3 separate regions of the Homo sapiens genome follow, and regions 1 and 3 are each linked to region 2. The links are contacts of gene promoters, found by promoter capture Hi-C in blood cells and fetal thymus (Javierre and others, 2016). All regions are on one chromosome and are shown on one strand. Each heading gives the region's core, a stretch centred on a gene start or on the middle of the fragment in contact. The rest is flanking DNA. Distances are from core to core; before and after follow the strand shown. Region 1 holds the start of AEN (apoptosis enhancing nuclease). Region 2 holds the start of KLHL25 (kelch like family member 25). Region 3 overlaps NTRK3 (neurotrophic receptor tyrosine kinase 3).

What was found. Contacts are between HindIII fragments. The CHiCAGO score rates a contact against its expected background, and 5 or more counts as called.
Region 1: a contact is called between the fragment with the promoter of AEN here and the fragment with the promoter of KLHL25 in region 2, in 4 of 17 cell types (M0 macrophages, M1 macrophages, neutrophils and 1 more). The highest score is 8.8, in M0 macrophages.
Region 3: a fragment that was not itself captured here is called in contact with the fragment with the promoter of KLHL25 in region 2 in 2 of 17 cell types (M2 macrophages and M0 macrophages); the score reaches 7.7 in M2 macrophages.

What each region holds. Positions count from the first base shown.
Region 1 is chr15:88,619,980-88,624,222 of GRCh38, reverse strand. It overlaps AEN (apoptosis enhancing nuclease), which reads right to left and starts at 2,883. Exons shown (of 4, transcript NM_022767.4): 1 at 2,841-2,883. RefSeq lists enhancers at 153-1,352, 2,839-2,998, 2,328-3,001, 3,002-3,675 and a silencer at 2,629-2,818. The HindIII fragment of the contact is 13,176 bases long and covers 1-4,243 here.
Region 2 is chr15:85,792,451-85,796,443 of GRCh38, reverse strand. It overlaps KLHL25 (kelch like family member 25), which reads left to right and starts at 1,519. Exons shown (of 3, transcript NM_022480.4): 1 at 1,519-1,678. RefSeq lists silencers at 1,329-1,398, 1,549-1,848. The HindIII fragment of the contact is 2,328 bases long and covers 96-2,423 here.
Region 3 is chr15:88,226,001-88,229,946 of GRCh38, reverse strand. The region is part of intron 3 of NTRK3 (neurotrophic receptor tyrosine kinase 3); the gene reads left to right. Among named protein-coding and RNA genes, the nearest start is that of NTRK3-AS1, 25 kb to the left of the region's middle. The HindIII fragment of the contact is 3,689 bases long and covers 667-3,946 here.

The DNA of each region.
Region 1 (4,243 bases), core at 1,634-4,133, 2.8 Mb before region 2:
AGGCTCTCTCGGGTCTCCACTGTGCCAGATGCTGGGCGGCTGCACAGGTGGATCCTGGACTCCAAGAAGTTTAGTTTCATGGTGGAGACAGAAACCAAGCATAAAGTGTGTTAAGGGCTGAAGCAGAGGTGCTAGGGAGGCAAAACAGGCTGGAGGACAATTCTCTGGAGGCTTCCTGGAAGAGGCTACATCTGTGTGCATGTACAACAGTAACCTTCCAGGTAGAAGGGAGAAGAATCAGTGGCCATGTTAGGGGCAAAGGCCTTAAAAAGGACTAACCCAGGGTGGAGGAAGAGGGCCCACCAGCAGCCTCAAGTCACTGGGGTGTAGAGCATAAGGCGGGTCATGCTGGAGGCACTGCTCCTCGCTCCTCTCTCCTTTGCACCATTTCATCTTCTGTTTCCTACTCTGGTGGCCCTTCCACAAGCCACCCCTACCGCAATCTGGTGTCCCCTGAATTGGTCTCTACTGGCCAAGTGAGTGGGGGAGCCCCAGAGGCACCTATGGAGGTCACTGAAATATCCCACAGTAGCCCTGACTCAGGACACTAAGTCTAGCTGGGGAGCAAAGAAATTCATCCCTCTGTGCTGAGCTCTTATAGCACAATTTGAGAATTATTACACCCTTCAAAGTCCATTGGTACACACAGTCTACCTCAGAGCTGTAAGAAGGCAGGTTAGAGCCTTGATTGTACCTTCCCCAACAGCCAGCCTAGAAGCTAGCATGTGGCAGGTCCTCTTCAGAAGGGTGTAGAAAGAGGTCTGGAGAAGATGAAAACCTGAGCAGTAGCAGCAGAGATTAAGAGAAATGGGAAGGGGATGGGAGGTGAGGTGAAATGCCAGGTTTGATGATGCCAGCATTTGCATAAAGAATCCCCACACTCTAGGGCAGGGCACCGCATCCTGACTTGACTCATCCAGACCTGACCCATCCTGACTCATCCACCCTGCTTGCTCATCCCATCCTTTCCAGGAGAAAAGGTCTCTCTTTTAAAAAGGTCTTAACTGTAACCAACTTCCTCATATTGACAGTCACATCTTAGAACTGACAAATTCAGAACCTTAATCTGCCTCAGCCCAGCAATGGGAGAAAAAAGCCTAAGAAGCCCAATGCCCACCCTGCTAATAACTAATTTGGGAAAGGGGGCTGGCGGATAGTCCCCTCCTTTCTCTGTGAGGGGCTGAGGCTAGGAGTAGGGTGGGTGGCTTTCCTGATCCTACTGGCAAGGTTTTAAAGAAGCCAGAAATTAAGTTATCTGAGAAAAGGTCTCTGTAGCCTCCTATTTCAAGAGAGGAAAGTAGTCCTTTTCCAAACACCCTGACCTTGCTTAAGAGAAGAGAGAAAGAGACCTCCCCCTCATATTGTTCTGTATTATTTTATACTCAGTACCTGTTTTAAGAAGAAACAAGGAAGCAAAACCAAAGGCAGGCAGCCCGGCGCCACGCACCAGACCCAAAACCAGACCCAAAACCAGGCCTGGGCCTGCCTGACCTTAGCCTGATAGTTAAAATTAAACCCATGACCTAGCAACCGATGTTATCCATAGATTTCAGACATTGTATAGAAGGACACTGTGAAATCTCTTGTTCTGTTCTGTTCTGTTTCACTCTGACTACCGGTGCATGCAGTCCCTGTCACATACCCCCTAGATTGCTCAATCAATCATGGCCCTTTCTTGTAAAATCTTTAGTGTTGTGAGTCCTTAAAAGGGACAGAAACTGTGCACTCAACAAGCTCGGATTTTGAGATGCTAGTCTGCCGATGCTTCCAGCTGATTAAAAGCCAATTCCTTCACTACCTCTGTGGGGTTTTGTCCGCGGCTCCTCCTGCTACATGCTGACACGTCAAAACCAACAGTCATCAAGGACACACCTCTTTGGGGACCCAAATGTAGCTCAGTGAAGCTGGAGAGAAGTTCCGCTCAGATAAAACAACCCTTTCAACAAGGACAAACACAAGCCTTTCTCTAGCCTGGACCCAGCGCTCTGGGGGTCAGACACCCGGCCTTCAGGCAGGGAGGGGGTCTGGCCTAAAGAAAGGGTCCCAGCTGCAGAGTCAATGGAGCAAAGGCCCCAAAGGAACCAAGAAGTCAGAATCCTCGGTGGCATGAGAGCCACCAACCTGCTGGCTGATCAAGAGGGCAGAGGGCAGTTCTAGACCCTCCTCTGGCACTAAGTAGCTAGATGATCTGGGGCAAGTCACGTCTCTTCACCATCAACCGAGGGCTGTGAATTAGATAAGGGCTTCCCAAATGTAGTTAATTACCATATGACATCTGATGAAAGGCTGATTTTCAGGCCCACTCCCACACCGTCCTAATTGCTATTTTGGGGAAAGGGGCCTGAGAATCTAGATTTTTAAAAAGAGCGCGGACGACCCCTACCCTCAAGCCACAATTCTGATAATCGCCCAAACCTGAAAAAACCTGGCTCGATAAGGTCCCCTGTGCTGCTAAAAAGTCCACGGAACAACGACAACAACTAAAGTCTGCTATCCTGGCACGACCTCCCCGCCGGCTGGCGTTCTCCCAGGCGTGACGCGTGGGAGGCCTGATCTCACCGGGAAGGACTCGGGCGTTGGTCACTTGCTGGCCGCGGCAGCTGGGCCGAGTCCCAACGACCAGCGCCGCCCCCTCTGGCCCTGGACCCCCGAGCAGAGCGAGGGCTGGAGACAGGCGGCGCCCGGCCTGCTTTTCTGCGGGCCGGTAGGGCAGGGTCAGCCCAGTTCAGGCGTCCCCGCCGCAGGCCGGGGCGGAAACAACGCGCGGGGACCTGCGACCCGGGACACGCGGCCTCAGCCCGCCCGACCCCGCCGCCCCGGTGCAGGGTCCTGGATCTCACCTGAAGCCCCGCGTGTCTCTTCCGGTCTGCACGTGGCGTCCGGAAAGCCGGCAGCTCCCACATGCCCGGGCAAGCCCGGCTCCGACTGCCCGCCTATTGGCTCGCTGGACGGCAGCGCCCGCCCAAGACCTCTTCTGATTGGTCGAGCCTGCCTGGCAGCGGGGAGGCGGGCGAGAGCAGAAGGGGAGGGACTCCTGAAGAGGGCGTAACTCGTGCTGCGAGCCGGCCATACTGGCGGGAAATTTTAAAGAGAAGGGAAGGGAGACTGACCTCCTGTCGTCCCTGCCCGGTCCCATCAGTGTTCCCCGGCTCCAATCCACTCCTCTACCTGGGTCGGGATGTGGGCTCCTGTAAGCCTGGTACCACCAAAGGCCGAATGACTTACTGAGTACACCCACATCTGCAGATTGGGAACATCGGCCCTTACCTCCTCGGGTGTTCTGGGATTCAAGGAAATAATATACACAGTAGGCACTAAAGAGAGACTTTGAAAGTCAGGTTTCCTCCGTCAGCGCTGCTTTTTCATTTATTCTTTTGCAACACTTGACTCCTAAGTATTAAGTTCCTACGTGGGCTTGGCAGTGGGATGCACACAATAAACACATAAGCATCCTGAGTTGTTTATCTAACAGCAGGGAAACAGCAAGGTTAACAGAAAATTCAGTGCAACATGAGGCCGGGGCGCGGTGGCTCACGACTGTAATCCCAGCACTTTGGGAGGCCGAGGCAGGTGATCACCTGAAGTCAGGAGTTTGAGACCAGCCTGACCAACATGAAACCCCATCTCTCCAAAAATACAAAAATTAGCCGGGCGTTGACGGGAGCCTGTAATCCCAGCTACTCGGGAGGCTGAGGCAGGAGAATCGCTTGAGCCCAGAAGGCGGAGGTTGCAGTGAGCCGAGATCGCGCCATTGCACTCCATCCAGCCTGGGCACCAAGAGCAAAACTCCGTCTCAAAAAAAAAGAAAGAAAGAAAGAAAGAAAATTCAGTGTAACATGAGTAATAACAAGAACAATAATAAACAGTTCACACGTATTATGTGAGCACGAATGATGTGCCAGGCAAAATACTCAGTTAATTTGTACAATGACCTTACTATTATTTCAGTTTTACAGTTAAGGAAATTGACACTTAAATTAAGGAGAAACACCTAGAATCCAAAGATCCTTACCTAAGCAGTCTGACTTCTCTTAGTTCACATTTTGCAAGCAGAAGTGATTTGGAAACGTACCTGTGATGAGAAATAAGCTAGGAGCTCTTTCTGATGGGAGTACAAATTTGAGGGAAGCAGGACAAGGGATGAGGTCACAAGAGAGATCAATCCTTTTACCCAGGCCCCTGAAGGCTTTGGGGAGGCAGAGGGATTTAAGCCATAGATAGTTTACCAGTGAATCTGCATTTG
Region 2 (3,993 bases), core at 270-2,769:
CTCCAAGTCCCCACTGGACCCAGAAAGTCCAGCTGGCTTCACCTCTCACTACCTTTTCTCTTCAGAAGGCACCTTAACAGTGCACTTGGCAAGCTTCTTACCTCTGGCCAATATTGTTCATAAATATCAGAACCCTGGTGCCTTAGATGTCTGCAGATCTGGGCCAAATGGAAGCACAAATCTGTACTGAGCACTTACTACATGCCAGGCCTATTCCATATGTTATCTTAATCTTTCCCATACCCCTGCAAGAAAGGTTTTAGAATCCTCTTCACCAGTAAGAACCAGACACCAGAGAGTCTGAGCCATCTGCTTCAGTCCTACCCAGCTCTTGAGGGGCAGGGCGGGGCTTCAAACCCAGAACATCAAGCTGTTTCCCAAAAATGCCTTCCCTGGTGGTATCTTCTCATCATCTCCCAGTCTTTTAACCCTGGCATATCTGTCCTGTCTAAGCAGCTTTCTACCCAGGGGCTCTATTTCCCAGGTTCCACTAGTCACAATCCTATCCCCTCTCCCAAATCTTTGTACACTTTCTTAGACCTTCCTTGCACCTCCCACCTCCACCTCCGTCAGGGTGACCTCTGCTTCCTGGGAATTTCCCCGCCCCAGGCTTGGCTCTTTCGTTCTTATCACTTTCTATGCTTTACCTTTTGTATCCTTAAGCAACCTACTTGAATTATCGATTTTCATTGGGAGGGAGAAAAGAGAGGACATTTATTGCGCACTCATTTGTCTGGGAATTTGTCTCCTTTAATCCCCCAAATAATCCGATGAGGAGTTTTTATCTGCCGCTTTACGGATGAGATTGGACACACACAGTAAGCTGAAGTAGTAGTCAGGAGGGAAAAGGACGAAGAATCACAAACCGTTCTCCCCCTCCAAGATGAGTGCATGGTGTGGGCGTCCAGGAAACGTTCCTGGAAGAAATTATTGGATGGATGGATGAATGAATGAATGAACGAACATTTAAAGGCTGGCTTACGAAAGGAGTTTAGTGAGAAATGACACAGAGAGGAGAGCTGAAATACTCCAAAAAATACAGATTTCAAGTACAGGTGGGGTTTGGAGGCTGCAGAAAGTCCCAAACATTCAAACAAGCCCAGAGTGAAAGACAGGGTTTCATTAACACTCGGGCAACTACTAGTGTGGCTCTGAAGAGTCTAAAGAGATCTACAACACTTGTGACCCGAACACAAAAGAGGCATATGCAATCTACAGTGCTCCCTCTGGAAAGCTCTAGAACACCGTCGCGTTTTGTTCCCAAACTTGGGCGGCGGGGTTGGGCAGGCGCCTGTCTCTTTAAGAATCTGGTCGAAGTCCTTTTCCTCGCCCCGCCCCGCCCCCGGTCCCCCCCCCTCCCCGCCCCCGGCCCCCCACCCCCCGGTGCCGGCGCGGCCTGGGGCCCACCCCCTTCTTTTCTGCGGCTGCACTGAAGGGTTCGGCTGCCCATCCGTCACAGAGGCGATGCCTCTGATTGGCTGCTGCTCTTCGGGCCGGGAGGCGGGGCGGGAAGGCCGGAGAAACTAGTTTGTTGGCGGCGCCTAGGCTGTATCGCAGCGAGAGCGTTTTTGCCTGTGGAGAGCCGGCCGACGGGAGCCGCGGCGGAGCCTGTTGAGCTCGCGCGGGCTGCCGGGAGTGGTCTCTGAGGCGGCGGCGGCGGCGGGGATCGTCTCCGGCAGTGAGTATCCAGGCCGGGCGGGGACGCCGTGCTCTGGCCGCAGCACCCGCGCCCCCGCTCCCTGCGCTGGGGACTCACCACCCCGGGCCGGGCCGGGACCAAGCGCTCGGAGCCCCCGCGGGACTACGTGTCCCGGGAGGGGGCCCCGCGGCTGGGGCCGGGGCCCTGGGACAATGGTGGGGAGCGGCGGCCGGCCGGCACCCCGCGGCTCCGCGAGGGAATTCGCCGAGAGCTCTGCGCGAGGGAATGAATTGTTTGGCAAATGGATGTTGCGCGCGGGAGCCGCTACTCTTTCCCCAGGGAGTGGTTGATTCATTGAGTCCGCAGACTCTTTTTTTTAAAAAATTACTATTGATCCTGGAAAGAGAGACTGCTTGTCTTTGAGGACGCGAGCGGCGATGCCCCGCGCCTTGGACGCCCAGGCCGGATGGCTGCCTGCCTGGCGCAGAGCGAGGGCCCGGGGTTCACAAGGGGAGGGTTTGCGCGGGCCTGGCCGCGGAGCCCCGAGCCGTTCACGTTCCGCCTGCCAGGGTCCCTCGTTTCGGTTTGCAGAACTGTCCAGCGGCAGAGAAAGGTCGCACTCAAAGGCACACCCACCTGTCCACCTGGGTGGCGGCCAGACTGGCAGGTCCAGAGCAAGCCCTCTAGCCTGACTCTAATTACCACACTTGCCCTGGCTCCGAGACACACCGCGCGATGTTACGCCCCCACTCCCCCTGTCTCTTTCGTAGTTGCTTTAGAAGCTTTTCTCTTGGGGGATTGTGCCCGGGAGATACCAGATACTTTTTTTGTGTTGCTGCTCTAAGCCCCCAAAGTGCATTCCCATTGTCTTTGAACAAAGAAACATCTCTCTAGAGGCCTGACCCAACGAACTGTGGGTGAGGGGGCGGACCCAGGCCCCTGCAGATTTAATCTGGACGCTCTTGGGTCCTGCTGGATCCCGGTGAATTTGACCTTGGGGAAGGCGGGCTGGACTTTGACTCTCCTCGGTAGTCAGGGCAGAGAATGCCAGGTGTCTGGACCATTTGGTTCCACTCTATCGGCCCAATAGAGAGAGGAAGGGAAGGAAGTTAGCAGTAGCACCAGGAGAGGAGGCAGGATTCCACGGTCTGTATCCTGGACCAGATTCCAGTGACCGTTATGGGGCCAAGCCCTCTGGGACCCTGGGTCCCAGTCTCCCCATTCATAGGAGGAACTGATGCTCAGTGTGCTGATCTGAGCTGTGAGGATTCCTGGCATGTTGGTGAAGGCTTGCGTGGGGGTCTGGGGAAGAGTAGGACACAAAGTCTACCCCACCTCAGGGTCCATTTGGTGTCCCAAGACCGGAGGCTCTTGGGTCCACAAGCTGTGCCTGTGAAGGTTGACGTAGTCAGTCTTTTTCCGGCCTGGCAGCTATTTCAGTTTTGAGTCATTTGTCAGGCAGTGACTCCAGGGTGGTTGATAAAAGGGAGGTAGAAATGGAAGACACCTTCATCCTGGGGTCTTGGGCTGCAGTTGGATTTATGTATGTGGTGCGGAGAGAAGAGCTATAGGCAAATTGCATGCTCCACATCGGAAGCAGGTTCTGCAGCCCGATGCCCCTTAATAGCGTTTTAAATCTGCGGGCACCCCGTGTGGGCAGAAGAGAGCAGGAAGAAAAGAGAACAATTACCCAGTGAAAGCAAGCTTGGTTCGTCCCGTCTATCACTTGGGCGGGGGCGGGGGGAAGGGTAGGATGAGTGAGAGTGTTATTTAGTGGGTGGTTTGTGACTGATTGATTGATTGATTCATTGTTTGAACAGACTTGATTGGGCACCTGCTGTGTGCCAGGCCCTGAGTTAGGTGCTGGAGACTCTTCCTTTAGTGAGCACCTAGATGAGGGAGTGCTGGCACATGGATTAGGGGCCCTGACACATCGTAGTGATAGAGGCAGCAAGAGGAGAGAAGGAGACACAGGTGGGCAAGGCTTCCTGGGGAGAGGATGCCTTGACTAAGATGAGAAAGGCATGTCATCGCCCAGATTCGAGGTGTAGGGCAGCCACCTTTGTCCTGTCGCTCACCCACACTTCTCCCAGAGGCCCAATTCATTGCCAGCCTCAAGATAGGCACAGGTTGAGGCCATGGAGAATGCAAGTGGGAGGTGGTAGAAGGTTTGCTCTCGTCCGTAGTGTCTGGCCGCACAGTCAGCAGTCCAGCGCATTTGTAGGAAGCTGGATGGCTTCTGGATGCAGCCTCTCTTCTCTGGGGGTCCTGGGAGAACCTACCCCCTGGTCCCAAAGACCAGCCCATTGTCTGAGCCCCTAGTCCCTCTGTACCACCAGGCAGTGTAGGCATAG
Region 3 (3,946 bases), core at 1,262-3,761, 2.4 Mb before region 2:
GCTACCCAGTTCTGTACAATGGCCGCATTGTGACTTGGTTAGATTTTCCAAGCCGGAACAAATGTTCCTGATGTCAGTCCAGTGAGAAATTCTGCTCCATGTTCCCTGGGCTACACTGATCCATTCATCTTGTATAAGACAACCATGTGGGGAAGTAGATAAAATATTTGTACCATTGATTGCTTTATCTCATGTGGATGGAAGGTGGGAGTGAGCAAGTGCCCATGAGCAGGTGAGGGAGGCTGCACCCACCTGTGTGCAGAGAGTGACCAGGGCAGGACCTCAGGGATGCTGGTACCCCTGGGGACATTGCCTGTTGCATCCAGATCTAACTCTGACAAGAGTTAACTGGCAGGCTCTTCTCAGGATCCCTTCTGGTGACAGACTGTGTTAGTTGCAGACCAGGGTATCTTCTTTTGGATGGGAGTGACGAAGGCATCCATCTTGAGGAGGATGTAGTCCCTCCTCACATCTTTGAAGGTTCATATGGAAGATTTAGTAAAGTGGATGGTCTTTCCAGTCATTGAGTCACTCAACAAGCTTTGGGATGTAACATGGAGAAGCAGATTGGAAAGATCCTGAGTGTAAAGATCAGGCAGATTTGATCCTAGTTCTCCTGCTCATGGGCTCTAGGATGTTGGATAAGTCATGTAACCTCTTCAAGCTTTAGTTCCTCCTGGAACCTCATCCCCCAGGGTGGTTGTTAGAGTTGAATACCATTATGTATGTAATCAGACAGGCTTGCGTTTGGCTGCAAGTAACTGAAAACTGGCTTGGTGGCTTAAACATATAGGGGTTTATTTTTCTGATGAAAATTAGACAATGGGAGATTGGCTGGTGTTGGTCCAGCACTCAGCTATGTCAAGGGTGGAGTCTCTGCCATTCTCTTAGCCTTTCTCTCATGGTTGCATGGTGGCTGCAGCCAATATGTCCTGGTGAGGGGCAGATAGGGTCAGGGAGGGGTAAGGAGTGAGCACACCAGCAAAGGAGGGAGCTCCCCAGAGGTCCCCCCACAACACTCCCACCCTTAGACTTCTGCATATGGCTCAGGCTTCAAACCTGGCCATCCCTTGTTGCCAGGGAGGCTGAGCAGATGAACATGTGGCTTTCAATCTCTATGGCAAGGTGAGGTGAAGGGGGCAGAAGCTGGAGGGGCTTCTGGGGGTGCTGCCATATCTAGAGAGCTTGTTGGCTTGCAGACCTCCAGTTCCCCTCTGTTACTGCGTGTGAGGCTTTGTGGAAGTTATTTTGAGGATCACAGTGATGACCCCAATAGACAACTATAATACAAGGGAAGAGGTGAAGAGTACTGGGGTCATGTGCTGTGGGTTTTCCTGGAGGAGGGTCTGTTTCTGCCCAGGGGAATCAGGAAGGCTGTGGTGGGATCTGAGTGGTGGGTCACAACTGACCAAGAGGAAGGGAGTTGGAAGGGGCAGCAATTACCACAGCTCCCAGAGGCTCTGAGTGCAGGTGTAGACAGATCCTTTATGCACTACAGGGTAGTATGGGGGCAAGGGGACTGATAGGATGAGACTCATGTTTCAGGAAGATTGAGCCATAACAGCCAGCCATGGATTGGAAGTAGCAGACAGCCAGGATGGGGAGATCCAGCGGGAGGTGTGGAATCTCTCCAGATGGAGGGATGAAAATCAGATATAGGAAGAGGGGGTGGGAGAGAGAAATGGCATGGAGGTCAGAGTGGCAGGATTTGAGCTGAGGGGGCATGCATGGATTCTCAGTGCTGGGATTTCCAGTGGGGAGCCCAGGAGAGAGGGGAGTGACGTGCCCAGAGATAGAGGAAGATCAGCAGGGAGTGGATATGAGAAGGAAAAGCATGATTCTGGTTTCACACATTGGGTTTAGGTTTGGCCTGGAAATCCAGAGGCAGATGTCTGCCAGCAGTTGGAGTTTCTGGGCTGGCTTGGGCATAAAAACCAGGCCTGCAGGTTAGTGAATTATGTGTCTAGAGGTGAGGGCTGAAGCCAAGGATGCCAGTGAACATGAAGAAGGGAGGAGGGCCAAGGTGAGAACCCTGTTTCCATCTGGATACAGGAGTAAGGAGAAAGGACCCACGGGAGTGAGCTAGCAAGGGGAATGCTTGGTACTGCTGCGAGGGGCATGCAGCTTCTAGGGGGAGGGTAGTGGTCAGCGACCTCAGTGGCCCAGAACTGAGGTGGGTAAAGGGGGAGGGAGGAACGGGCAGTGAGTGTTCCCCTGAGGGTTTGGTTACCAGGTGTGTTAATCTGCTGCTGCTGCCATAACGAAGTCCCACAGACTGGGTGTCTTAAACAGAAGAAGTGGATTCCTCACCGTTCTAGAGGCTGGAAGTCCAACATCAAGGAGCCAGCAGGACTGGGTTCCTCTAGGGCCTCTCTCCTTGGCTTGCAGATGGCGGCCTTCTTGCTGCCCCTTCACCTGGTCATCCTTCTGTGTGCACATGTCCCCGGTGTCTCTCTTTTCACCTGCCCACATTTCCTCTTATAAGGACCCAGTCACATTGGATTAAGGCCCATCCTAATGACCTCATTGTATCTTAATTACCTCTTTAAAGGTTCTATCTCCAAATACAGTCACACACCGAGGCTCTAGGTAGGGGCTAGGACTTCAACAAATGAATTTTATGTTGGGGGTGAGGAGTGGACAGCAGTCAGCTCCTAACACCAAGGGAAAGCTGGTGATAGGTTGGTGGGAAATGCAGCTTTTTAAGGGAAATGTGGGCACAAAGGAAGAGCCAGTGGATGGGAGAGCCTGAAGGAGCAGGAGAGACCCGACGGGGAGGATGCAGGGCATGGAGGATTTGGGAGAGAGAGAATAAGAGGTGCAAACTGAAGCTGAGATTTCCTGGAAGGCTGGGGCACCATCGTTCATCTCTGTCCACAGAGCCTCACTTTATGCTGGGTTTTGGATAAATAAAAGAAGAGCATCCTCTATCTCTGTAAAAGGAGGGAAAGTGGAAAAGGTGAATGTGCAGATGCATACATAAAGTGGAAAGAAGATGAGAGCTCAGGTCAGATGTTCTAAATCTTCTCAGTGATACTTAACCTCTCTGAGCCTCAGTTTGCTGCTCTGTAAAATGGGGCTATCACCCCTCCTTCACTGGGTGACTGAGAGGATTAAGTAAGATAATTTCTGCAAAACACTTGGCCTGGTACAATGCTAAGGGCTCTCTACAAGTTGAGTGTGATTATTGTTGTTACTTTTATTAATAATGGAACGGGACACAAGACCATGTGAGTGTGGGCCCAGGGGCAGGGGTGGGGGTTTGATGGAGATTTGCATCAGCCATAGGGGCCGTGCGGCCCAGAGATGGCTCAGTGCTCCCCCTGGTATGTCAGGATGGAGGGCAGTGGGGGCCTGAGGACAAGGAGGAGGGACTTTTGAGGCTGGACTTCCCTGGCCTCTGGAATAATTTGTGTCTGAAATTTCAGAAGCCAGACTGTTCTCTAGGAAGTGAGTGTTGGAACTGGAGACCCACCCCCATTGTGGGTCATCTCACTGCCCTTCAGTGCCTGGCCTTCCCCGGCATCTCAGGGCCACCTTGTGGACTGCTCGTGGCCTGTTTCTTATCCACTCACACCATCCAGTCGGCACTTCCTGGGATCTACCCTGAGGGATGCTCTGGTGGCTGCAACCTCTGGGGTGGAGGAGAGAGCATGTGCTGAGGGCATTGGAGGGCAGGGATGAAGGGAGAGGAACCCATGGAAGGGGTCTGCAGGGGGCAACCGGCAGGTGCTGCCCTGGGCTTAGGACTCTTGGTCCCAGAGCTAAGGACTTAGAGACGGTCTGGCTCACTCCCTGCATTCTACAGATGAGGAAACTGAGGCCTGAAAGGAAGAGGACTTGCCTGGTGTTGCACAGTGGGGACATCACAGAGTGAAGACTCCTACCATGCCTTTGACTTCACATCCAGTGTTCTCTCGACTTCCAGACTGCTTCCTGGGATCGC